4 separate regions of the Homo sapiens genome follow, and all the other regions are linked to region 1. Evidence: promoter capture Hi-C in 16 types of primary human blood cells and fetal thymus (Javierre and others, 2016). All regions are on one chromosome and are shown on one strand. Each heading gives the region's core, a stretch centred on a gene start or on the middle of the fragment in contact. The rest is flanking DNA. Distances are from core to core; before and after follow the strand shown. Region 1 holds the start of CARINH (colitis associated IRF1 antisense regulator of intestinal homeostasis). Region 2 overlaps GDF9 (growth differentiation factor 9). Region 3 has its middle 6.9 kb from the start of SHROOM1. Region 4 overlaps SEPTIN8 (septin 8).

Region 1 (5,744 bases), core at 2,036-4,535:
GTAGATAGGAAGAGCCTCAGACTGCAGAGCCATTCTGAGAAAGTGCTGGCCAGACTGACAGGAAGCCCCAGAGTACAGGTGGCCCATTAGAGGAGTTTTGCCTCTGGCATTCCCTCTTATAGCGTCAAATGCATCTTGTAGTATTTAGGATGGCATTCTATATTTGACCAATTATTTGATTGCTTTATTACCTCACTCAAGTGTGTTTCCCGAGGGCAGAGACCACATTTATTTTTGCTCATCACTGAATCCCCAGCATTAGCAGGGTGGCTGCATTTTGTAGTTGCCACAGAATATTTGTTGAATGAAATATCTAAAAGGGTTATTTTTTTCATTTTTATCTGAATCACACATCAGGTATTTTTTTTTCCTAACCAGTGACTCCTAAGTTAGATGCTGCTTGCACCATGCTTTCATTCCATTTATATCATTCTTCAGCTGGGTTGCGTGATCATCAGCTGTGCCCCGCCCCCCAACCCTCCATTGCCCGATTCTGTAGTAAAGTCTTTTGGGACTGGCCTTGGACTTGGACTTTTGCTTCTTTTGTGTCTTTACTGACTATCAGTGCAGGCCTGGATAAAGTTCTTGTTGCAGAACTTGCTACTGCACAAACTTTTGTTCCAGGGTTAGATCAGGAAGGATAGTAAGGAAAACAGAGCTGTCTCCAAAAGGTGGGATAGAAAGCTGTCCTTTAGAAGTTAAATTATAAATCAAGCCAATCAGAGCAAAGATACAAAATGTCTCCATAAAGAAAAATAAGGGCTGAGAGACCTTACTGAGTAATGTTACTCAGTAACGCCTTGCTCTATCTAAAAATGTCCATCTGAGGAGAGGCGGCCTGGGTACCATAATACAGAGAGCCTCATCGACACAAACAGATGGTGTCCACCAGGCCCCATCTAGGGAGAAGGGCTGGCCAGGCCAGCAGGGATGAGTGAACAGTACTTCCTATAGGTTTTGACCTGTGTTGTGGAAAGAGACATCCCACATTGCCCGAGCCTGATATCATCAAACATTTAAGTCAGACAATTCACTCTTCCGATTCTGATTTTAGGCTCACTAAGCCACCTTCTGACTATGGGGCTCCAAACTGCATGGCTACAAGAAGAGAATGTGTTCATCAGGTGGCCTCGAGTCCAGTGTTCCCGACAGTCTTGCTTCTAACAGGAATGGATAAGCTTCAGGTTTTGGGGTCAGATGGCCTTGATTCAAACCCTGCCACTAACATACATAGTAACTATGTGACCTTGGGATTTCCTTCATCTTTTTTTCTCCCAAATGAAAAATAAATAGATTATAATATACCACATGATAGTAGGGAGAAATAATGAGGTAATAATGCATGTAATGCATTTAGCATAGCACTTCTCTAGCAAATAGTGAATGAAATCAGTCAGTTGTCATTCTGACTTTATGCAACAGTGCTAATCGACTCTGGTACACTGGAAGTCAGATGAGATTTTTGGCCCCACAAAGTCAAGGACCAAACCTGGACCTTGGGAAGTTGCCAAGATGAAAAACATCAGGCCGGCCTTGACCTCCTGATGCTCTCTGTTCACATGTGTGATGTCTATAAAAGGTAACCAGGATTTGGCTTATCTGCTTACATCTCTTCCTGTCTTTTCCTGATCTTCATCTTCCCAAACATAGTTTTTATGCAGAAGCAGATTTAACTCTACTTTGCTATCTTGGAGTCAAGAATTGTCCTATAAGGAGGAAGAGGCTCCAAGGCTTGCCTTTTTTGTTTTTTCTTTTTCCTTCATACTACAGACTAAAAGTAGCATCTTCTGGACAGAGAAACAGGCTGTTGTTTTTCTAAGGTCATCATTTGGCCTGCCCCACTTTCCCACCTGCTCTTGAGGGAACTATTGCAAGGACACATACAAGCCCCTACATCAGTCACAGACCAGGGCCTCCATCTTGCAGGGAATGTGCCCAAATTACAAACAGGTAAACCAAAGTGACTCTGGGCAGATTTAATAGCTCATTTTGGTTTCTTGTTCCAGTTATAACAGACTGCTCTGTGTTTGCTCTATGGCAAAAACTTTTATGTTTGCTTTGCAACAAACGTACAGACAGGGCAAACTGTGTTTGGAGTATGGTGTCTTACCAATGTTTTCTAAAAGCAAGTGAATAGAAATGCTTGCAAAAGTATTTTCAGACCTCAGTGGCCAGCGCTGAACACCGCTGTAGGAATGTCCATCAAACGTTGTGGCCATGCTCCACTCTAACAAAAACCTGGTTCCGTGGCATAATTGTGGGGGCTAATTGTCAGGCTAAGTTTCAGACACCTTCCAAAAAAAATTGCAGGGCTTCCTCAGTCTTTAAACTCCAGATAATATTGTCCAAACTTTGACAACTAACCTGTTATCATGGAGATAGCTCCAAGTTGATGGACTGGCCATTAGAGAATGTCTATCAAGCATCCAGGTAAATGACTTGGTTGCTGCCCTCAAGGAACCCACTTAGAGGCTGTCAGAAAATTTTAAGTATTTTCTTCCTTCTATTGTTCATTCCTAAAATTCTGGCAGTAGGTATGATTATTATTATTCCCATCCCACAGGGGAAGTAATTAAGTCTAACTACTTGAATATTTTGCCCCAAATCACTGACAGTAAGAGACGGCCAGACACTGAAACCTGGAATCTCTAAATGTTTAGATATTGATGGGCACCGCTTAGACCAGGGAGTCCAAACCATAGGCTTGCTGTTCCAGTTTCTCTTATCGGATGAAGGGACCCCCATTTCACCGACGTCATTGACTTTTGGGTTCTCCGCTGACCCCAGATGAGATGCCTGGTACCTCATGGTCAAGTCCCCTCCAACGGGGACTCCTCAGAGGCTTGGTCCCAGTTGCTCAGGCTGCCATCTGCCTCCTCAGGCCAGAGCCCGAGGCGCCGCCAGCGGTCAGGTCCCGGGCCGGCTGCCAGCCACAGGCCCAAGTAAACGCTGAATGAAGGGCAGATGGAGGAACCTGTCCCGGTCGGCCGAAGCGCCGCGGGCGCCTTTCCACTTACGGCGGGCCTGCCCAGCCTCCCGCCCAGCCCGGGCCCGGGTCCCGCCGAGGCAGGTGTGCGTGGCGGACTAGCTCTCGGGCACTCGGCTGGCCCAGCTCCACCCCGAACGCCACCGGGCCAGGCCACGCGCAGACCCGAGCCCGGGGCCCCCGCCTCTGGCTGCCGGCCCGCGCCCGCCGCGCGCCCCGCGTTCACTGCGCGCTCGGCCCCGGTCCCGCCTCCCGGAGGGTTTCGCTTTCGCTTTCCTGCCGATGTCGTTGAGGAAAATGAAAGCGGTCGTGGCCAGGACTGGCGCAGCTGCCGTTTCAGGCGAGGGGCGCAGAATGCAGCGGCCGCCAGCCTGGAGCGCGGGCCCTGGGGCCGCAACCCGCGCCGGGCGAGGTAAGCACAGCCCCTTCGCGGCCGCCTCGCGGGCTCCTCCTTGCGGACCCGGCGGGCCCGACGCCAGGCGTTTGACCCGGGCAGGGTCAGGGGTTCTGCCGTGGGGGCGGGGAGGGCCTGAGAAGCGGCACCCTTGGGTTTCGTGGCTTTGAGCCTCCAGGCCAGGCTGGAAGACCTGGGAGGCCTCAGACAAGCGTGCCAAGGGGCTAGCAGCCCGGGGTCGAGCTGGAACCGTGGCAAGTCGGGCCACCTGAGCACGCCTTTCCCTTTTGTAGAGCACCGACCTCCCTGGGTGTTGGTAAAAATCAAAAGTGGGAGGGTGTACGTAAAATGCTGAACAGAATGCCTAACCTGAGCTCATAATCTACTCCCTCTGACCTGTCAGACTCATTTTTCCCACTGGGCCCCACCCCATACCTCATGTAGTTTGCTTAAGTTTCCTAGATCTGGTGCACCTGGGGGCACTTGGAGTGCCTTCCAAGTGTTCCTTGACCGAGCAAGCTGGCAGCTCATCTCCCTTGATCACGGGCATGGAGAGCAACTAGGCCAGGATGTGGCCCCCTTGCCCTGGCCCTGTCCATGTGAAGTCAGGGCCTTACTCTGCTGGGGCCCCCATCCCGGGGCTAGCATAGATGTCAGGGATAGGTGCACTCACAGACCGAGTCCTTCCCAGACCAGGAAATTTCCAGTCCACTGCATCTGCCAGCAGAAGCATGAAAGATGCGTGCCACCTTGTCTTTGCCCTTCGTCAAGTATAGCCAACTCATTCTTGGTATGCAGGAAGGGGGTTCCACCCCAGGGCTGTGGAAACAGCCCCTGCCCTTAGGGCGTTCCCATCCCCTGAAGAGAGAAAATATGTATTCAAGTTACCCATCAGGCAGGTTGTGTAGAACAAGGACAGGTGAGTGAAAGAGCTAAGAGCTGAGAGTAAAGTGACTAAATCATCAGAAACTTTACATTTAAGTTATGACAGGTTTTGCAGGCCAATACCAAGAATCCCCTTTAACTCAATTTTTGTCTCAATAATAATGAATTCAGCCTAATCACACAGATCTGATCATACGGCCCATTACTGAAACAAAACTTGAATGATCTTTACTTTGAGAAAACCATCTGAATTTGACAAAAGATGGTCTAAGTTCCTAAGTTTCAAAACATGGAGTCCGCCGCTGCCCTACCTCAGCAGGATGGTGTTGAGTACTGATTGCTTTTAGAAAATGCTGCTCTTGCCGGGCACGGTGGCTCACGCCTGTAATCCCAGCACTTCAGGAGGCCGAGGCGGGCTGATTACCTGAGGTCGGGAGTTTGAGACCAGCCTGACAAACATGGAGAAACCCCGTCTCTACTAAAAATACAAAATTAGCCAGGCATTGTGGCACATGCCTGTAATCCCAGCTACTTGGGAGGCTGAGGTAGGAGAATTGCTTGAACCCGGGAGGCGGAGGTTGCAGTGAGCCAAGATCGCGCCACTGCACTCCAGCCTCGGCAACAAGAGCTAAACTCCGTCTAAAAAAAACAAAGAAAGAAAAAAAGAAAATAGAGAAAATGCTGCTGTTTTCATGAGCCAGAAAATTAGATGCACTTCCATTCACATTCCATTGGCATGGACTAGTCTCATGGGTCTCACCTAATTGTAAGGTGGCTGGGAAATGTAGCCTGGTGGTGTTCCCAGGAGGAAAAGAACGAGAGACTGGTGAGCACTAGTAACCTCTTCCACAATCGACTAATGTGGTGAATTACTTTATCATGATGTATTTGTAATACACTTTCGTATTTGATTAGATAATATTTTATTTAGGAGTTTAACATCTATGTTTATAAGTGAAACTATCCTGTATTTTTCTTTATTTGTACAGTCCATATTTAACATTTCAAAATCAAGTAACAAATTGGGCAATGTTTTCTCTTTTTTTCTATTTTCTAAAGCAACTCCATTAAGATAGAGATTTTCTGCTCCTTGGAAGTTAGTAGGAGGCACTTGTAAAATCTTCTGGGTCTGAAACTCTATGGGGAAGAGGTTTCAAAATTATTTGAGTCTCTTAAGTGGTTATTCACATTTTTGTGCCAAATTTGGCAATTTTTATTGTCTAGAAATTATTCATTTCATCTGTATTTTCAAATGTATTATCATGTGTTTATATTATTCCTTTATAAGTTTTAAAATGTCTGTTTTATTTGTCATTTCTTCCTTTTTCTGTAATCTCATTTTTAAAAAATCTTCTGTCAGTTATTCTTGATCAGTCTCACTAGAGGTTTGTCTACTTTCAAATAAATACTTCAAGTTTTGTTAACCACCTTTTTTTTGGTCCTCTATGTCCTCTATTTTGCTGATTCTGCCCTTATGTT
Region 2 (5,744 bases), core at 2,418-4,917, 450 kb after region 1:
TATAAATATGTACAACTATTATGTACCCATAGAAAATAAAAACATCCCCCAAAAGTCAGATGAGTGTTGAAAGGATGCTGAGAAATCAGAACCCTCGTGCACTGCTGGTGGGAATGTAAAATGGTGCAGCTGGTTTGGAAAACAGTCTAGCAGTTCCTCAAATGATTAAATGTAGAGTTACCATATGACCTAGCAATTCCACTCTTAGGTATGTACCCCAAAGAAATAAAACTTCTACATGAATTTTATTAGCATTATTTGTAATAGCTAAAAAATGGAAACAGCCCAAATGTCCAACCACAAATGGATAAACAAAATTTGGTATAGCCATACAACGAAATATAGTCACTAGAAAGAAGTACTGATACATGCTACAACACAGATGAACCTTGAAAACATGCTAAGTGAAAGGAGTCAGTCTATTTTATGATTCCATTCATATGAAAGTCCTGAATCAGAAACCTATGAATAAGTTCGTAGTTGCTTAGGGCTGGGAGTGGGGCAAGACAGGAAATGGGAGTAATAGCTAAAGCATATAGGGTTTCTTTTTGAGGTGATGAACATGTTCTAAAATTGATGATGGTGATGGTGTTCTATGTTTATAAATATACTATAAACCACTGAATTGTACACTTTAAATGGGTAAATTATATGGTATGTGCATATTTAATGAAGCTAAAAATAGCACCAAGAAAAGATCATTTACAAGAATAAAAAGTACTTATTACATCTAGGAGTTACTTTTGGTTTATACATCAAGGTTTTAGAAACTCAAACACAAAATCACGATATCAACCCTACCTCTGTGCCTCCAGGGCTCTCTCAAAATAGATATATTGAAAACCTACATAAAAACCCTAGCATCCACATAAGACCCAGTCAATAACATAACCAGTCACTACTGCAAGCTTAGTAGGAACAGTTATAAATCTATCTGGAAAAAAACCTGTGGGGGTGGAGTGGAGGGAGCTAAGCAAATCAGCAAAAACCAAACCAAAACAAAAAACCTTCCCTGGCTGCCTTTCATAAGGTCAGAGGTTTTAAATATATAAAGAAAAAAATACACTTACAAAGTCTTGTACGTAGGTTTTCTTGGAAAAACATGCAAGGCAATTTCCTTTACATGAATGGGACAAATGTTATATTGTTCTGTGTGACTCGATTGATTTATATATGCTAGTTAACAAGGAGAATTAGTATACTGTTCACCAATCACACTAAAGCAACGGAAATGGGTTACACTGCCTGCTCTCTAGTCCTAGTGAGTCTTAACTTCATGAGAATTTCGGTGACATTAGCCTCCCTTTCACTCTGAAAAAGGATCAAAAGTCGAGCTATGGCCAGCTTTTAGACACTTCCTCTCCCCCACTAAATGATCAGCTTAAAAGCAATATTTAATAAAACACACACAAAATTTATGCCATTGACAGAAATTTATTCTTCTATTAAGACTACAGCAATCTGAATTGCCTATTTATAGCTGCAAGTCCATCCAGGATTGATGCTAATTAAGGTTTTTTCCCTATCAAGAATAAGACTCCTATGAAAAGAAAAAAAATCACTCAAGGAAAAAAATGTAAAGTTCTCCACAATAATTATATTTCATTTAAATTTGGAAATAAAAAAAGGCTCTGTAGCAACAATTGATGTTATCCCTTTATCCTGATAGATGCCATAGAAGGTACTAACCTACACAGGCTCCTCTTTATATAACATATGCTACATTTAGAGACTTAATATATGAAGCTTTCTCTTGAAGGCACACATAGGCACACAGTAGTTACTTTGCCAAATAGGCTCAAGGTTTTAAGAGGACCATTTGTTAACGACAGGTGCACTTTGTAGCTATCATATCTTCGTACTCTTTATAGGCAATTGAGCCATCGGGCTCAATGGTCAAAACACTCAAGGGGCTGTATTTGGCAGGTACACATGACGGTCTTGGCACTGAGGAGTCCAGCTTCTCATAGATGATGTTCTGTACCATGGTGTGAACTGGAGAGCCATACCGATGTCCAACTGCCCTTGGACAGTCCCCTTTACAGTATCGAGGGTTGTACCTGTGCGGAGCCACAATCCAGTTGTCCCACTTCAGCTGACTAAAGCTAAGTCTAAAGTCATGGAGCTCACACTCATTTTGGGGAAGAAGAAATTGTCTGAAGTATTCACTCAGATTGAAGGAAGCTGGGCCCAAGGGCTTCTTCAATTCAGAACTGACAGTTTCCTGACCTCTGCGGTGACGGTGATGGGAAGATCTCCCATCCTCAGCAGCCTCTTCTCCCACAGGATAGGCAGACAGACTTCTCTCCTGGTCAGGACCCTGGGAAGGCCTCCTTTTATAGTGAAGGGAATACCAGCTGTGATAAGCCTGAGCACTTGTGTCATTCAAATATAAGATCAGTGAGGGGGACACCAGAGTCATGTTAAACAAACCATTCTGTGCTGAAGGATGCTCCAGCTGGTCTTTCATGCAAGTAAAATTTATAGACATGTGAATACTTCTCTTGTTGGAGGCCACTAAAGGTTGAAGGAGGCTGGTCACATCAATCTGAATCCATTTGTGTTTCTTTCCAAATTCAAACTGTGAGTTAAAGGTAAATGAGTATGGAGCTCTGCCGAGAGTCCTGCTAGAAGACTTTGGCTCCTTTATCATTAGATTGCACACACATTTGACAGCAGAGGAAAAAGAAACTGAGTTGTTGATATTGTACAGCAAGACTGACTTGAGTAAGTGTTCAACGGTAGTAATGCGATCCAGGTTAAATAGCAGTTCCACTGATGGAAGGATTCCTAAGAAGAAAAAAAATCTACCAGTAGTGCTTGAAAATCAGTCAACACAACAGGCAGTCAAGTCAAAGAATTAGTACTTCATAATATGCTTTCTCCCTTCTCTTTTCCCCACTTTCTCAAGCCTCAAAAAAAAAAATGGGGGTTAATATAGAAAAGGAAGGCAATTGGTATCATTACTAATTCCCAGCAACCTTACTGGACATTTTATCTCCAGAAAGTCAGATTTGGTGGTGAATCAAAGTAACAGGGAATCACTACATTCTGAAGTTTCATTTTTATTTTTTATTTTTTTGAGACAGGGTCTCACTGTTACCCAGGCTGGAGTGCAGTGGCACCATCATGGCTCACTGCAGCCTCAACCTCCCAGGTGCAACTGATCCTCCCACCTTAGCCTCCCAAGTAGCTGGGACTACAGGCATGAGCTACCATGCCCAGCTGATTTTTTGTTTTTGTAGAGACAAGGTCTCGCCATGTTGCCCAGACTGGTCTTGAACTTCTGGGCTCAGGCGATCCTCTCACCTCAACCTCCCAAAGTGCTGGGATCACAGGCATGAGCCACTGTGCTCAGCCTGAAGCTTCATTCTGAGTAATTTGCTCCAAACACAGAAGCAGCTGAGCTGATAAGGAAAGTAGTATTTTTCTCTTGGATAATCTCTAGAGGGAAAACCATAATAGAAACACTTATCAGACTTACTAAGATGACATTCTAAGCCCTAGTGAAGAAAGTCAATTTAAAACAATGTAATTGGTCCTAGTTAATTTAGAACACTTGAGATTAAAAACAGATGCTCTAAAACCACTATATTAAAATAGGATATTAAGGAAGCAGATACAACTGCCCTGTTGGGTTAGAATGGTTTTAAATCAAGAGCTGGTAGATATATACTTTTTTTTTTTTTTTTGAGACAGAGTCTCGCTCTGTTGCCGGGCTGGAGAGCAGTGGTGCGATCTTGGCTCACTGCAACCTCTGCCTCCTGGGTTCAAGCGATTCTCCTGCCTCAGCCTCCCGAGTAGCTGGGACTACAGGTATGCACCACCACACCCAGCTAATTTTTGTATTTTTAGTAGAGACGGGGTTTCACCATGTTATAATTTTTTAAAGCACCACACCCAACTGCTGAGTCAAACTGTGGACTGATACTTTGTTCTTGTAAGGGCCAACTGTTCAAAACGGGAACTTTAAGCTTTTCTCTCACAGAAAGTAACAAACAAGAGAAAAATATCCTATTTAACACATCACACCAATAGCTGTAAGAGATGTTTAAGGTCCATTTCTGGGCCAAAAGCTTGGTGGAACAGAAAGAGGTGCTAACATTCTCTAGCAGCACTTCCGCTCAGCCTTGAAAGCCATTAAGTCTCTGGTGTTGCTTTAAAATTCCATCATATTAGCCCACCTTAACCAATGAGAGCGTTAGGAATAAACAATAAGCTCAAGTCCCAGATTTGTTTCAACTGGATATTGAGTTTTATGCAAAATAAAATACAATTCAAGGAACTAGGCTCAGCTCCTTTCTGTAATTGAAATGCAGAAGTGTCTATCATCTTCCCTCCACCCAGTTAACCAATCTGCTTTCACATACCTGTTACCTGGTCTCCAGGAGCCTGCTTGTGCCGGGTACAGGGGGTGAAGAGCCGAACAGTGTTGTAGAGGTGACTTCTATTGGATTTAGGAATCCCTTCCTTGGTAGCATATGTCTTATAGAGCTTCTTCATGTAGTGCAAAGCTCTGGAGTCTGGCTGCAGCCTAGGTGACCCACCTCGCCCAACAGATAGAACTTTGAAAAGCGCGGGAAGGAGGCCAGCTCTGTCTCTCTCATCTATATGCTGCAGCAAGGACCAAGGCATAGCCCCAGATTCCAACTCAGCACTAGCAGCAATCTGAGCTTCTCCCCCAGAAGCCTGAGAACCAAGGCTAATAGGAAAACACAGCCAGGCAAAGCAGCAAAACCAAAGGAGGAATTTGTTGGGACGTGCCATGGCTTGGGAGAACTAGTGAGGAACATATTTCTCCATGCCAGTCCTCTTCCTAAAGGCCAGGAAGAGCCTAGCTTGGTCTCTTAAATAAATTTCAGGTGTGTGGGTGGACTACGGTCACTTCTGTAATCAGGCCTCAAGTATGCCTAGCTGAAGATTTTATCAGCTCTATATCAAGCAGCTGATAACACCTTATTTAGCCAATTTGTTAATTAGATACAGATTTACTTGGTTATTTAGCTTTCCTCTCTTTTCCCCTGGCATTTACGTAAAACCCGTTACTGTTACACTACCGGACTAACTATGTAGCTGAAAGTCTAAGATAAATTGAGGAATGATCTTAAATAAAATCTCTCATTTTTTGAGAAATTTGGATTAAGATGTTCGCTAGGTGCTTGCTGAAACTTCTAAGGCATGTGGAAAAGCTAACCAATTATTCATGACGATACTCAGATCTGCTGGTATGCAACTTATGGTATTAGGTTTACTCTTCCTCTCAATTTATCCTCACGGCCTTTTCCACTTCCAGGTGTTTACAATTGTAATTATTCGCTGCATGTTAATTTGCGAATTTACAAATTTGGGTGAGAAAGTCACAATTGGCATAGAAGTTCCAGAAAGCAGAAAACCATTAGGTCTCTCAGTCCTCCCAGGTGGCTGGGTACAGAATACGTACTTGGAGTACTGGAATTGTATTTGCGATGTTCTTAAAAGAGGACACCGCCTTTAACCTTGACTTATTTTTAAATGTAACATACTGATGTCCTTACTTTGGTCTGCACACTCATCTATACATATTTTGGTTGAAAGGTTTTGGGATGTTTGCAGATGCTATAAAATAAATGAACGTTTTATTATTATTCATCCAAATGGTGGTAGAATTTGCCACAATATTTCTGTCCTTACCTGTATTTCTGTTCTTGCCTTGGAGCTGAGACCAGGCTAGACATTATGGTTTAAAAAAATGAGGCAAAGGAGCA
Region 3 (5,744 bases), core at 868-3,367, 430 kb after region 1:
TCTGTCACCCAGGCTGGAGTGCAGTGGGGTGATCTCAGCTCACTGCAACTTCCGCCTCCTGGGATCAAGTGAGTCTCACGTCTCAGCCTTCCAAGTAGCTGGAATTACAGGGGTGTGCCACCACATCTGGCTAATTTTTGTATTTTTAGTAGAGATGGGGTTTCACCGTGTTGCCCAGGCTGGTCTGAACCCCCGACCTCAGGTGATCCACCTACCTCGGCCTCCCAAAGTGCTGGGATTACAGGCATGAGCCGCCGTGCCCAGCCTTCACCTTTATTTTTTTCATTTGAAAGTATATCTTAGAGTTTATTCAAAGTAAGTACATAGGTTTTCTTGTTTGTTTGTTTGTTTTTTAAGACAGGCACATAGCTATGCATTGCATGGGCACAAATAAATTGGGTTAAATAACCCTATTATTGGACATTTAGATTAATCCAGTCTTTTGCTATTACTATTTTAGTAACAAATACCCTTGTTCATTTATTTTTGTTCACATTTGTAAGTCCACTTACAGGATAAATTTCTAAAAGATGAATTGGTGGGTTAAAGTGTAGGTAGTAGATTGTACTTTACAAAGACAATCATGAAAAAATTTTCCACCTCCCAAGCTTTTCTACAATGTGACTTTGCCACTACTCTACCCAGAAGAGGTGAGGTCTATTTCTCCATCCCCTTGGATAATGAGCTTAGGGGTGACAGTAACTGTTTTGACCAACAGAATGTAGCAGAAGGTATGTTGGGCTAGTTCTGGACATAGCCTTTAACTGGCCTGGTAGCTTCCACTTCTTGCCTCTTGGTAGTGCTACTACTCTGAGACCACTAAGCTATGAGAAATACAAGCTATATGGAGAAGCCCAGGAGTATGAGATAGCATGTGGAGAGGGAAAAGAGAGGCCAAGGAGCACTTAGGCATTGCACAGGCAAGTAACCAGGCCATCTTGGAAGCGAATCCTGCAGTGTCAGCCACCCCCGCTGACACCATACTGATCAGAGAAGAATTCCGCAGCCTAGCTCTTCCTGAATTTCTGACCCTCAAAAACATGAGCACAATAATTATAAAAGTGCAAACTACTAAGTTTGGGGGTAGTTTGTTACATGGTAATAGACAACTGTAACAGGGTACATGAATTTTCTATTTTGATTGATATTGTCAAATCACACTTACAAAGAGGCTATACCAATTTACAGTCCCATAAAAAATGTATACAAGCACACTGAGATGGTTTAGATCTGTGTCCCCACCCAAATCTCATGTTCAGTTGTAATCCTCAATATTGGAGGTGGGTCCTAGTGGGAGGCAATTGGATCATGGGGGCAGTTTCATCATGAATGGTTTAGCACTATCCCTGTTGGTCATGATAGTGAGTGAGTTCTCATGAGATCTGGTCATTTAAAAGTATGTGGCACCCACCCCTCCCCCTCTCTTGCTTCTGCTCTGGCCATGTAAAGGGTACCTGCTTCCCCTTTGCCTTCCACCATGATTGTAAGTTTCCTGAGGCCTCCTCAGAAGTGAGAATCTGCATTTCCTGTACAGCCTGCAGAACCGTGAGCCAATTAAACCTCTTTTCTTTGTTAATTACCTAGTCTCAGGTATTTATTTACAGCAGTGTGGGATTGCATTAATACACTCACTAACACAGTGCATTATCAACCTTTTTTTAGACGGGGTCTTGCTGTGTTGCCCAGGCTGGATTTGAACTCCCAGGCTCAAGTAATCCTCCTGCCTCCGCCTCCCCAGTAGCTGGGACTACAGGTGCACACCACTGTGCTTGGCCTTTTTAGCTTTTAAAGTGCCATGGACCATCCTGGCAGCCTTAGTCCAGGTCAGAGTGTGTAAGTGTTCCCAGTGCCATTGAGACTTGGGGTGATCCCCTTTGCCCACCAGTCTCTGTGGGACCAACCCCTGCCCTCTGGGGCCTCAAGTTTCCCTTCTGCAGAATGAGTGCTGTGGCCAACAGCTCCTGGGCCTGTCCCCTGCAAGCAGCCTGCCCCTGCAGGCACATGCCACCATGCCTAGTGCATTATCAAACTTTTGGATCTCTGAAATCTGAAAGGTAAAAATAATATCTGTCTTAATTTATATTGCATATATTATAAATTAGACTACACACCATTTTGTGTATTTTAAAGCCATTTGTATGTGATCTGGGATCTGTCAATTTTCTTTGCTCATTTTTCTATTAGATTATTGGTCTCATTGATTTGTAAGACCTCTTTAGGGCTGGGCACAGTGGCTCATGCCTATAATCCTAGTAGCATTTTGGGAGGCTGAGGTGGGCAGATTGCTTGAGCCCAGGAGTTGGAGACCAGCCTGTCTCTACAAAAGATTCAAACATTAGTTGGCCATGGTAGCACATGCATGTAGTTCCAGCTACTCCAGGGAGCTGAGGCGGGAGGATCACCTGAGCCCAGGAGGTTGAGGCTGCAGTTAGACATGATTGTGCCACTGCATTCCATCCTGAGTGACAGAGTGAGACCCTGTCTCAAAAAAACAAAACAAAAAAAAACCTCTTTATATATTAAGGTGATTAACACTTTTTCCTATGTGTGGCAAATATTTTTCCAAGTTTGTGTCCTTTGATTTTGTGTGTGGTTTAACAGTGGATCTGTAGTTCATAGGTGAAGCAACAGATGTGGTTTTGTTTTTTTTTTTTTTGAGATGGAGTCTTGCTCTGTCGCCCAGGCTGGAGTGCAGTGGCGCAATCTTGGCTCACTGCAAGCTCCGCCTCCCGGGTCCACGCCATTCTCCTGGGACTACAGGCGCCTGCCACCACGCCCGGCTTATTTTTTGTATTTTTAGTAGAGATGGGGTTTCACCATGTTAGCCAGGACGGTCTCAAATCTCCTGACCTCGTGATCCGCCGGCCTCGGCCTCCCAAAGTGCTAGGATTACAGGTGTGAGCCCCCACACCCAGCCCAGATATCTTTCTTTTAGGCAGCAGCTACATAGCTGGGCTACATAGCTGTCTCAATAATTCAGAGATGGTAATGTACTGGTTAAAGTATATTAGAGGTCAGAAACCTTTCAACAAAATCATGTTGTTTATTTTTAGAAATTCAACAAAGCGTGAATTATTGCTTATACACAAATGTCTACCTAAACTGTAAATGTTCTTCTGGGGTAAGTTTGTTTGCTTTCCGATTATGCACTGAATTCACCACAGTTGTCTAAAGATAGGGCTTTATAGGAAAGTAGAAAGTGCACAAGAAGGAAGTGCAGGGAGAATGAAGATTGCCTTCGCCGGTGGGGACACCTGACAGGCAGGGCCTCTTGGTGAGGCTGGGTGAGGGCTGACTGTTCCAGAGATTGAACCAGATTCCCTTTCAGATCAGCACTTCCTGGAAAGGAGTGCTGGGCTGTCACATCCCCATTAAGTACACATATGTCACCTTTTCCCTGCAGACATTGGGTGACACCCAGCCTCTGTTTGCTTTGGTCAGAATGACTTAACTTTTCTACTCCAGCCTGGCCCCCAGCCCCAGGCCTGAAACCATTCCATCCTTGTGGTCTTCATTCAGATGTTACTCACACATCCTTGGACAAAAGAGGATTCATGAAAAAGATGGATACAGGCTTCTTCTTCTCTGCCAACTTCAGTGGGCCCCGGACAGATAGGTGTGGGCAAATAAGCTTTTCCACTTTGCTCTTCTGGTCCCCTAAGGTTCATTTTGGTTTTCAAGAAAAGAAACTATCTCAGGCTCTGAACTCGGCCCCAAAAGCATTGCTTAGAGAAGGCAACAGCCTCCTCAGGCCCAGGAATGGCCAGACTGTCTCTCTTGTGTCCAGATCATAAAATGGGATGAGATAGTCTCTAAAAAGCCCCTCTCCTAAAACTGTCATTCTGTTTGAGCTAAACCTCCCAGATTTCTGCTTGCTGAGGAGTCACCCAGAATATTCAATGGAAGAAAAATCCAATTTGTGAGCTCTGGACCCCAGGCTGCACACAGAAGCTGCGTGATGGACTTGGTACAGAATTAGGTCACAGCATGCTATGTGCATGTGGATGAATTTTGGCTGGTGGCTCAGGAGACTGAGAATGCATGCCCTAAACATTCACCTAGAAAACTTTCCTGATTTTAACTGTGGTGTATCTCGTCAGTTACTCACATAGAGGACACTTTGTTCTAAAACCCGGGGGTATGCCCAGCATTCATCACAGTCTGGGCACTGTGTTTGTGGTCACATTTACCCCTGGCAGGGTCCTTAGGTCCTAGTTAGCAGCTTTTTCTACTTCAAGGGAAGCAGCAAGAAAAGTAAAAGACAAAACAAAAAACAACATAGCAAGTTACTTTTGACTTTCCTAGCAAATCACCTAGCAAGATGAAAGGGGAATGTGTCTCTTAACTGGATGACACCAAATGAATTATGGGGCAAAGGGCAACTGACAGCAACTGCCTAGGAGTGGCAGAGACAGATTTATAGACAGGCTCATTGCCCACCCTTGATTTCTCAAAATGAAACAGGGAGAGAAAGGTGTTCTTCAATTTGGTGTATCCCAGAGATAGAAAATCAGTGAAGTAGGAAAGAGTGTGAGTTTCAAAGTATGGTGACTTCAGTTTGAATACCAGTAGCTCTATGAACCTGGAGATGTCCCCACCTTCCTGAGCCTCCATTTCCTCATGTGTAAAACAAGGATACTACATACCTGCCAGATAAAGATTAAAGGAGATTTGATCACATAGAGTAGTGCCAGGCTCACAGTGGGCCACCAATAAGTGATGTTAGTTATCATTATTCCTCACTTGAGTTTCTCCTGAGAAATACAATCTCAACTAAACCCCAGTCCCAATTTTCTCTCTAAGGACTGGTTTATCCACCTGGGGTCTCCCATAGGTGTTGCTCATGCTGCTGGTAGTTTCTCTCCTAAGCTTCACTCACCATTCCGGCAAACAGGGCTGTAAACACTTTGTTCATATTGTGTAAGTCTTGGGGAGACAGAACTCCCCCTCCTGCTTTGAAAGCCAGCCCAGTCACTGTACAGGCCTGAGACCTGGACTTAATCAATTTGATGCTTCTTCCAGAAGCTGGGACTCTTACGTGAGTAAAAGAGAGACACTGGGACAGGTGAGAAATGATCACGAGTCAGGAGGCGCAAGGACAGTAGCAATCCCGGCCTGTCCCCTGCTCTTGCTGCGCAGCCTCCTTTGTTCTTGTTTATTTTCACAGCCTGGTTCTCCAGCCTTCTAGTCAATTCTGTGAACCACTAGGTCTCCTCCCAATACATTCCTTTTTTGAATGAGTCAGGCAGAGCTGCTTGCTATTGTTTGAAACGAAGAAGTTTCTAATGTGGAGCCAAGACACCTTTTTCATACTGCCAGGCAAGAGGAAAATCCAGCCTGTTGAGATTTGGGTGTTGAGAGCTGCCCTTTCCCTGGGAAAAGCAACTACTAGCAAAGAGGGCAAGAGAGATTTCCATAGCTGCCCCAGGGTTCAGGGGAGGCAGTGTCTCTGCCCTTTGATGTTGCTGGAAATCCTCTAACAACGCTTACACAATCTCAAAACTAGCAACTCAGGAAACAGGATAAAGCAGTGCAAGAGAAATACAAGGCAGGCAAGTTCCTGGTTCAAAGTCATAAACATTTGCCATAAAAATGAGAACAAGATTTCCCTTGATAAACAAAACAAAGGCAAGAAAATGTGGAGATTGGTTGCTTTTTCCTCTTGCTGTACTAAGGAGGGTTGACCTTGATTCTACCTTTTCTTTGCTCGACAGCATAGGCAAAAAGACTAAGCTGAAGTCAGG
Region 4 (5,744 bases), core at 829-3,328, 350 kb after region 1:
ATTTACTAGGTGCAAAGTGGTCAAGGGCCAGATATACTATAATTGTCTATATTATAGAGTTAGTATACATCTGTATTTTTTCTTGACACACTTTTGCTTGTTGGTGCTTTCGTTAAAATTACACTTTAATTGCTTCCGATCCTGTATGAGTCTTATTTTGAGCTACCATGCATTTAGCCTTGCGAGAGTCAGATACATTTGGAACACTATCTCCTAGGTCATATCAAGAACTCTCCTCTAGTCCAGAACCCATTTTACAGATGGAGATGCTGAGGCCATGCTGCTCACAGCTTCCAGTGGTGGCCGTTGAGTGCCCTCTGCCTCCTTCCTTCCAGTGTAAGTGGGACCACAGTGCATGAGGCAGAAGGACATCCTGAGGGCCCATACCAGTTTAGGCATCCCAGGCTTTAGGGGAACTGCTGGAAGACATCTGCTGCTTAACCAGGTGGCTATGGATGTGAGCTGGATTCTGAGAGCTGATCCAACTCAAACCTCTTGGAGAAAGCAGAGGGTAGACATGTGAGTCCTAGGACTGGGGTAAGAGACAACCTTCTGCTCTGGCTTTCTATAAATGATAGAACTCTTCTATAGGGAAGCTCACTTTTGTATTGCCGAAGTCCCACTCGTGGATTTTTAAAAATCTTATGTGCTTTTCAAGCTTGCCGTGGGGCCCCAGGTCCCATCCTACTTCCCTCTAATATTCTTTTCTGACATTAGGAACTCCTATCCCACCTCAACTCAGAGATTGGGAAACATTTCTCAGGGAGAAATATGGATACAATCTATTTTCCTTTTGACCCCAGCTATTGAAAGGCAGGGATTGGTGAAGGAATGAGGCTGAAGAAAATGGAGATGGAAAAAGCTCAGAGGCAGATGCTATGGCAGAAAGAAAGGTAGGTGGGCTCAGGGAGGAACAGGGCAGGGGGAGCATCATAGACCTGTCTTAAACTTGTCCAAACAGTACTTCCCTGAAATGAATGAGCCAAGTCATTTGATGATGTTTCCACCACCTAGGAGGCCCTCCTCCCCCTGGCTTCCTGGAGAGTCTCTGTCCTTCAAAGCTTGGTGAATACTTTACTTTGCCTCCCTGCTGCCTGCACAAGTAGAGCTGAGCTATGCCTGCATTAGGGATGTGTTCATACCACTCTCCCTGCAGGGGTCCCCATTTTCTCATTTTGGTCTTCCCAAACCTACCTAGTGCTCAATGGAGAAAGCTCCTTAAAAAACAAACCCACATACTTTTTATCACTTCTTTTCACCAGTCTGCTCTTCCTCAGCCACTTTTGCCTGTCCCCTAGGGCTTTCTACCTCTAAAAAACAGTCTCAGGTCCACCAGCCCACACCATCAGGCTGTGTACTTTAACACTAGCCACACTTTCACTACTCTTCCATCATTCCATTGAGATGCCAAGGAGCAGGTGTAGCTCAGGATTTAAGGGTACAGACTACCAGCGTTCAAATCTCAACTTCTCCAGTTACTTGCCATGTAACCTTGGGTAATTACTTAAACCTCTGTGCTTCAGCTATAAAATGGGGATGAATGGTCCCTAATCATAGGATTAGGATGAGGATTAGAGGAGTTAATGCATGTAATATGGTTCCGAGCAGTCCTGGCACTCGAATATTAGTAGTCCCGTGGCAAGCCTTTGTGTTAAGGAGGAACACTCCTCAAGGGCAGGTGCCCCTTTTCTCATGTCCTGCACCCAGTTAACCAATAAAGATTCATGGACCACAGGCTGCCCCTTTACCTTCCTGTAACTTTCCTGTGACTCTTCCCTCCATCCCCCACCTATGCAAGAGCCTTTCACAGATGTCTGTAGCAGGGTTTCCTATTAAAACAATTCCTACAGAAGTAGATCAACCTCCACAAAATTCAAAGAACAGACAAGCTGTATTTTACCACAGTTGTAGCAGATTAATGGGCTCAGGAAACGTTAAATCAGAAAAGCTACTGCCCAAAAAAGACACCACAAAAACTCAAAATAAATGCAAAATTTAATGAAAAAAATAAGTACAAAGTGAATGGAAAAGAACAAAAACAGTCAATGAATGCAGGAGTAAATGAATTAACACGTGAAGCAATTTTAGAAAAGCATGTTAACGTAACAGACTAGCAAGCCACACTTCCTCAGGCCTCGTATCCATGAGCCCCACTTAACAGGGAGCCCACATTTACACATACACAAACATATGCAGTCAGTAATGCACAATTACAAACCACCTAGATCAGGGTACCCACAACTAGAAAGAACATATTTCCACATCGGCCTGGGACAGGTCTGGTTTATGCCTTTTGATCTGGTGTAATTAATAGCATCCCCTTTCTCTCTCAATAGTCCCAATTTGGGCAACGAATTATATGGTGATTCTTCTACCTCAAACAAACATGGTTTATGATAAAGACATGATAGTAAATGCCAACATGATCCTGTAAGACAGCCCTAATAAAGCCAACAAATGACAATGAGAAAAAGAGGGGTAAATGAGACTCTGCAGACAGGGTCACATTCTATGGGGGCTAACTTACTAAACAGTGGCAAGTTTTAAGCTCACTTTATGCACCAAGGTTTAATTTGGTCTCAGCTAAAGAAGACAAAATTCCAAACACAAACAGCAGGGGAGAGGTGCAGTGAGGCTTGCTGGAGGGACCTGTGGAGGCAGCTCAGACCAGAAAACACAAGTCTGTCAAGTGTCCTGAAGATCCTGGGAAGGCTTAGGCCCGCAGGCAGCCAGCCACGAGTATGGCCTTTCAGTATGCCTGGGGTGCGACCCGCAGGCCACAATGGACGAATGGCCAAGTCTGCATACTCCAGAGTCCTAGGTTGGCCCATGAACCAGGAATTCTCATTTCTTATGTATCCAATGAACCTGCTGGGTCACCAGGCCTCATCTTCATAAATATGTTAGCTGAGAGAGGCTATCTTAAAGGTCATGCTCTGACCCAACTGCATACACTTTCAGACATAAAATTACCCTAGAGATGAGCCATTGGCAGCCCACATTTGCCCTGGATATGCCAGTTTACCTTTTTAGATACCCTCACTGAAGCATCAGTTTTCAATTGCAACCAGATACGGACTTATTGTGACGCTAAGGAAGCTTAATCTTCAGGGCCCCTTCCAAGACCCTGTACCTAATTTTATATTAACATTGTTTTTCTTAAAGAAGTCTTTCTAAATAATTCAAGCTTTCAGCCCCATAAAATTTAGATCCACCCCTGGTCATAGCATAAAAAGTTGAATTGTCACTAGAACCTGCTCTGCTGCTGGAGCATGGAGCCCCTCACAGGTAAAGGCTGCCTCTTCCTGGCCGTGCCTCGGTGGACACACACAGCTCACCCCTCCACTTCTCCCTGAGCAGAACATCATCTCAGGAAGGCAGGAGGAAGCCAGGACTTGGTCCTGGAAATCAATAATGCAAGCCAGACAGAAAGGGGGAAATGGTCATGAGAAGGAAGACAGGGGCATGAAAAGCAAACTACCAATTCCACAATAAATTAGCACGTCTTCCTGAGGCTTCCAGCCAGGGAGTAGGCTAGACTGTGAGCTCCTTGAGGGGAGCGTTGTGCATTCCTCTGGGTAGCTCCAGTGCCCAGCACGGTGCTTCAACATTAAAACTACCCTTCCTTTCATTTAGTCATTTTACATCTCCCATTTTACCAGGCCGTATTCTCAACACTGACATTCTTGGTGGCTTGTAAACCAACAGGAGCATAGAAGAGTCAAAGCTGCTAGTACTTCCTTAAAATGTTCCCCTTTAGAGTGCAGCTGAAGGGGAAAGCTCCTTTGCCGCTCATTTTTCCCTAATTGTCTATATACATCAGACACCTTCATCTCTTCACCCTGTGACCCAGCCAGGAAAGAAGCAATGACTTTGAGGTAACAACCTTTTTCCCACTGAGTACTCTTTACATTTGGAATATGCAGGATTTGCTTGGGAGTCTTAATTGGAGTCAAACACTTAACACACACACATGGAGTTGGTCCCTGTCTACAGGTAGCACCTCTGGGGCACAGACAACAGCTTTGGGCTGCTGTTCCATTTACATTCACAGTAAAAACGCTGGACATGGTCTTGTTCATGTTCCAATTCCATCCATAAAGAAATGCCAAACACTGTCATTACAGGAAGTTTATTACCCACCTCTCCCTGTATATGATAGGCATACTTTATACATAAGAAAGGTTTAGCTGTATTTTTAGTTTTTAAAAATCAGGGAATCTGTGTTACTTATGAAAATAATGGGAGAGGATATTATTTGTCTTGACGCTGGTGCCAAAATAAATATTTAGAAGTGTTTTAAAGTTATTAAAATTAAGCTGTAGGTTAGAAAAATTAAAATGAGGGGAACTGGGTGAATTTTGCAGCATGTATACCAGACCACGCAGCTGCACCTAGGGCACCACGTGAGTTGCCATCTCCACGCTGAACAATTAGGCCTAGCATCCCGGCTGGGGCCTTCGCTAGAGCGGCACATAACAGCTCCGTCAGGGAATAGTGACACTGTAAATGGAAGACCAGCCACTGGCTCTGAAAAAAATAAACCTCGTCAGTTTTGGATTCCAGCATTCATGGCTTTTACGTGTTTGCATAGAGAGGGGTGGCCCGCCAGGCCCGGGGCAGCCTGGGGCCAGGGTCGGTGGGAGGAAAGCAAGGCTGTAAACACTGGAGTCTGTACCGGCTCCCAGTCCGTCCTCACACCATGTTATGGGAGAAGGGTCACAAGGTGTAACTCAAGCAACTTAACACATGAAAGTCTAAAGTCCACTCTTGACATGTAAGTCTGTGCGTGCGTTAACTGAAAAATAAAAATAAAACAAACAAAACAAAAACAGACACATTAAAAGATATGCAGACCAAATCAAACAGAAGCAAAAGACAGCAAGATGGACACCGTGAAAGGGCAGTCAGTTTGGCATTTGTGACGAGCAAAGCAGAGAATTCACCTCAGTTTGTGGTGTCCCAGGCTAAGGGTCAAGATCTGATTGGGAAGTAATTTTGCAAAAAATTTGGATTCAAATTTAAAGAGTATGCATAACCAATCAAAACCACTCAAATAAATGGTCATGAAAAACACCCCTGCCCCCATTCCAAAAATGCACTCCCGACTCACACTAGTCCCTTGACCAGGGCGGCAGGAAGGAGTACTCCCAGTCAACCCACCTACCCCATTCCTGGCCTCCACAGAGCCGTCATGGGAAGAGCGTTTTCTCTCCCAGGGACCAAACTGACTGAAGCTTTCTAGCAGGTCCAGAGAACAGGAAAGACCTGTTTTCCAGGCCCAGGCCTGGAGAACGTATCATGGAGCCCAGGCCACATGGGAAAAGCAGGGAGACCAGACACCAGTGACAAGCCCCCACCCCGAGGGCTGTGCTGGTGTCCTTTCAGCCTGCCTGCACCCACCTTCACTGGCCCTCAGACCCTGAACTGGCCACAGACCCCTGTCTGCAGTTGCTGAGTGGTTTCTCCACAGCTTATTTCCTAGGGAATCCTGGCTACCTTTTCTTTAACAAGATGGCAGGAAGCAGGGCAAAGTCACTTTGGGTGCCAGTACCTGGGTCACAGACTCCCGCTGGCCCTAATGGCTAGGCTCCATTGCCACCAAGGAAGGAAGGGCCTGGGCATACACATCCCCAAATATCCCAGGAGGAAATGGATCCCGAGAATGACGGCCAGGTTGGGTTCACCTGCTTAGTTCCTAGGTTGGCAAGAGAAGGATGGTACCCAAGATAGGCCGGGGCAGG

The links. Contacts are between HindIII fragments. The CHiCAGO score rates a contact against its expected background, and 5 or more counts as called.
Region 2: a contact is called between a fragment that was not itself captured here and the fragment with the promoter of CARINH in region 1, in 6 of 17 cell types (naive B cells, fetal thymus, M1 macrophages and 3 more). The highest score is 7.5, in naive B cells.
Region 3: a contact is called between a fragment that was not itself captured here and the fragment with the promoter of CARINH in region 1, in 3 of 17 cell types (monocytes, fetal thymus and M0 macrophages). The highest score is 7.1, in monocytes.
Region 4: a contact is called between a fragment that was not itself captured here and the fragment with the promoter of CARINH in region 1, in 1 of 17 cell types (fetal thymus). The highest score is 5.0, in fetal thymus.

What each region holds. Positions count from the first base shown.
Region 1 is chr5:132,407,644-132,413,387 of GRCh38, forward strand. It overlaps CARINH (colitis associated IRF1 antisense regulator of intestinal homeostasis), which reads left to right and starts at 3,286. Exons shown (of 4, transcript NR_161242.1): 1 at 3,286-3,398. RefSeq lists an enhancer at 2,635-2,684 and silencers at 2,925-3,224, 3,295-3,584. The HindIII fragment of the contact is 5,230 bases long and covers 1,177-5,744 here.
Region 2 is chr5:132,859,767-132,865,510 of GRCh38, forward strand. GDF9 (growth differentiation factor 9) reads right to left here. Exons shown (of 2, transcript NM_005260.7): 1 at 4,371-5,744; 2 at 1,419-2,790. The coding sequence starts at 4,767. The coding sequence ends at 1,823. Among named protein-coding and RNA genes, the nearest start is that of GDF9, 3.8 kb to the right of the region's middle. The HindIII fragment of the contact is 609 bases long and covers 3,364-3,972 here.
Region 3 is chr5:132,834,705-132,840,448 of GRCh38, forward strand. No RefSeq gene overlaps it. Among named protein-coding and RNA genes, the nearest start is that of SHROOM1, 6.9 kb to the left of the region's middle. The HindIII fragment of the contact is 3,023 bases long and covers 607-3,629 here.
Region 4 is chr5:132,754,027-132,759,770 of GRCh38, forward strand. All of the region lies in intron 9 of SEPTIN8 (septin 8), which reads right to left. It overlaps CCNI2 (cyclin I family member 2), which reads left to right. Exons shown (of 6, transcript NM_001039780.4): 6 at 1-377. Among named protein-coding and RNA genes, the nearest start is that of CCNI2, 9.5 kb to the left of the region's middle. The HindIII fragment of the contact is 2,038 bases long and covers 1,060-3,097 here.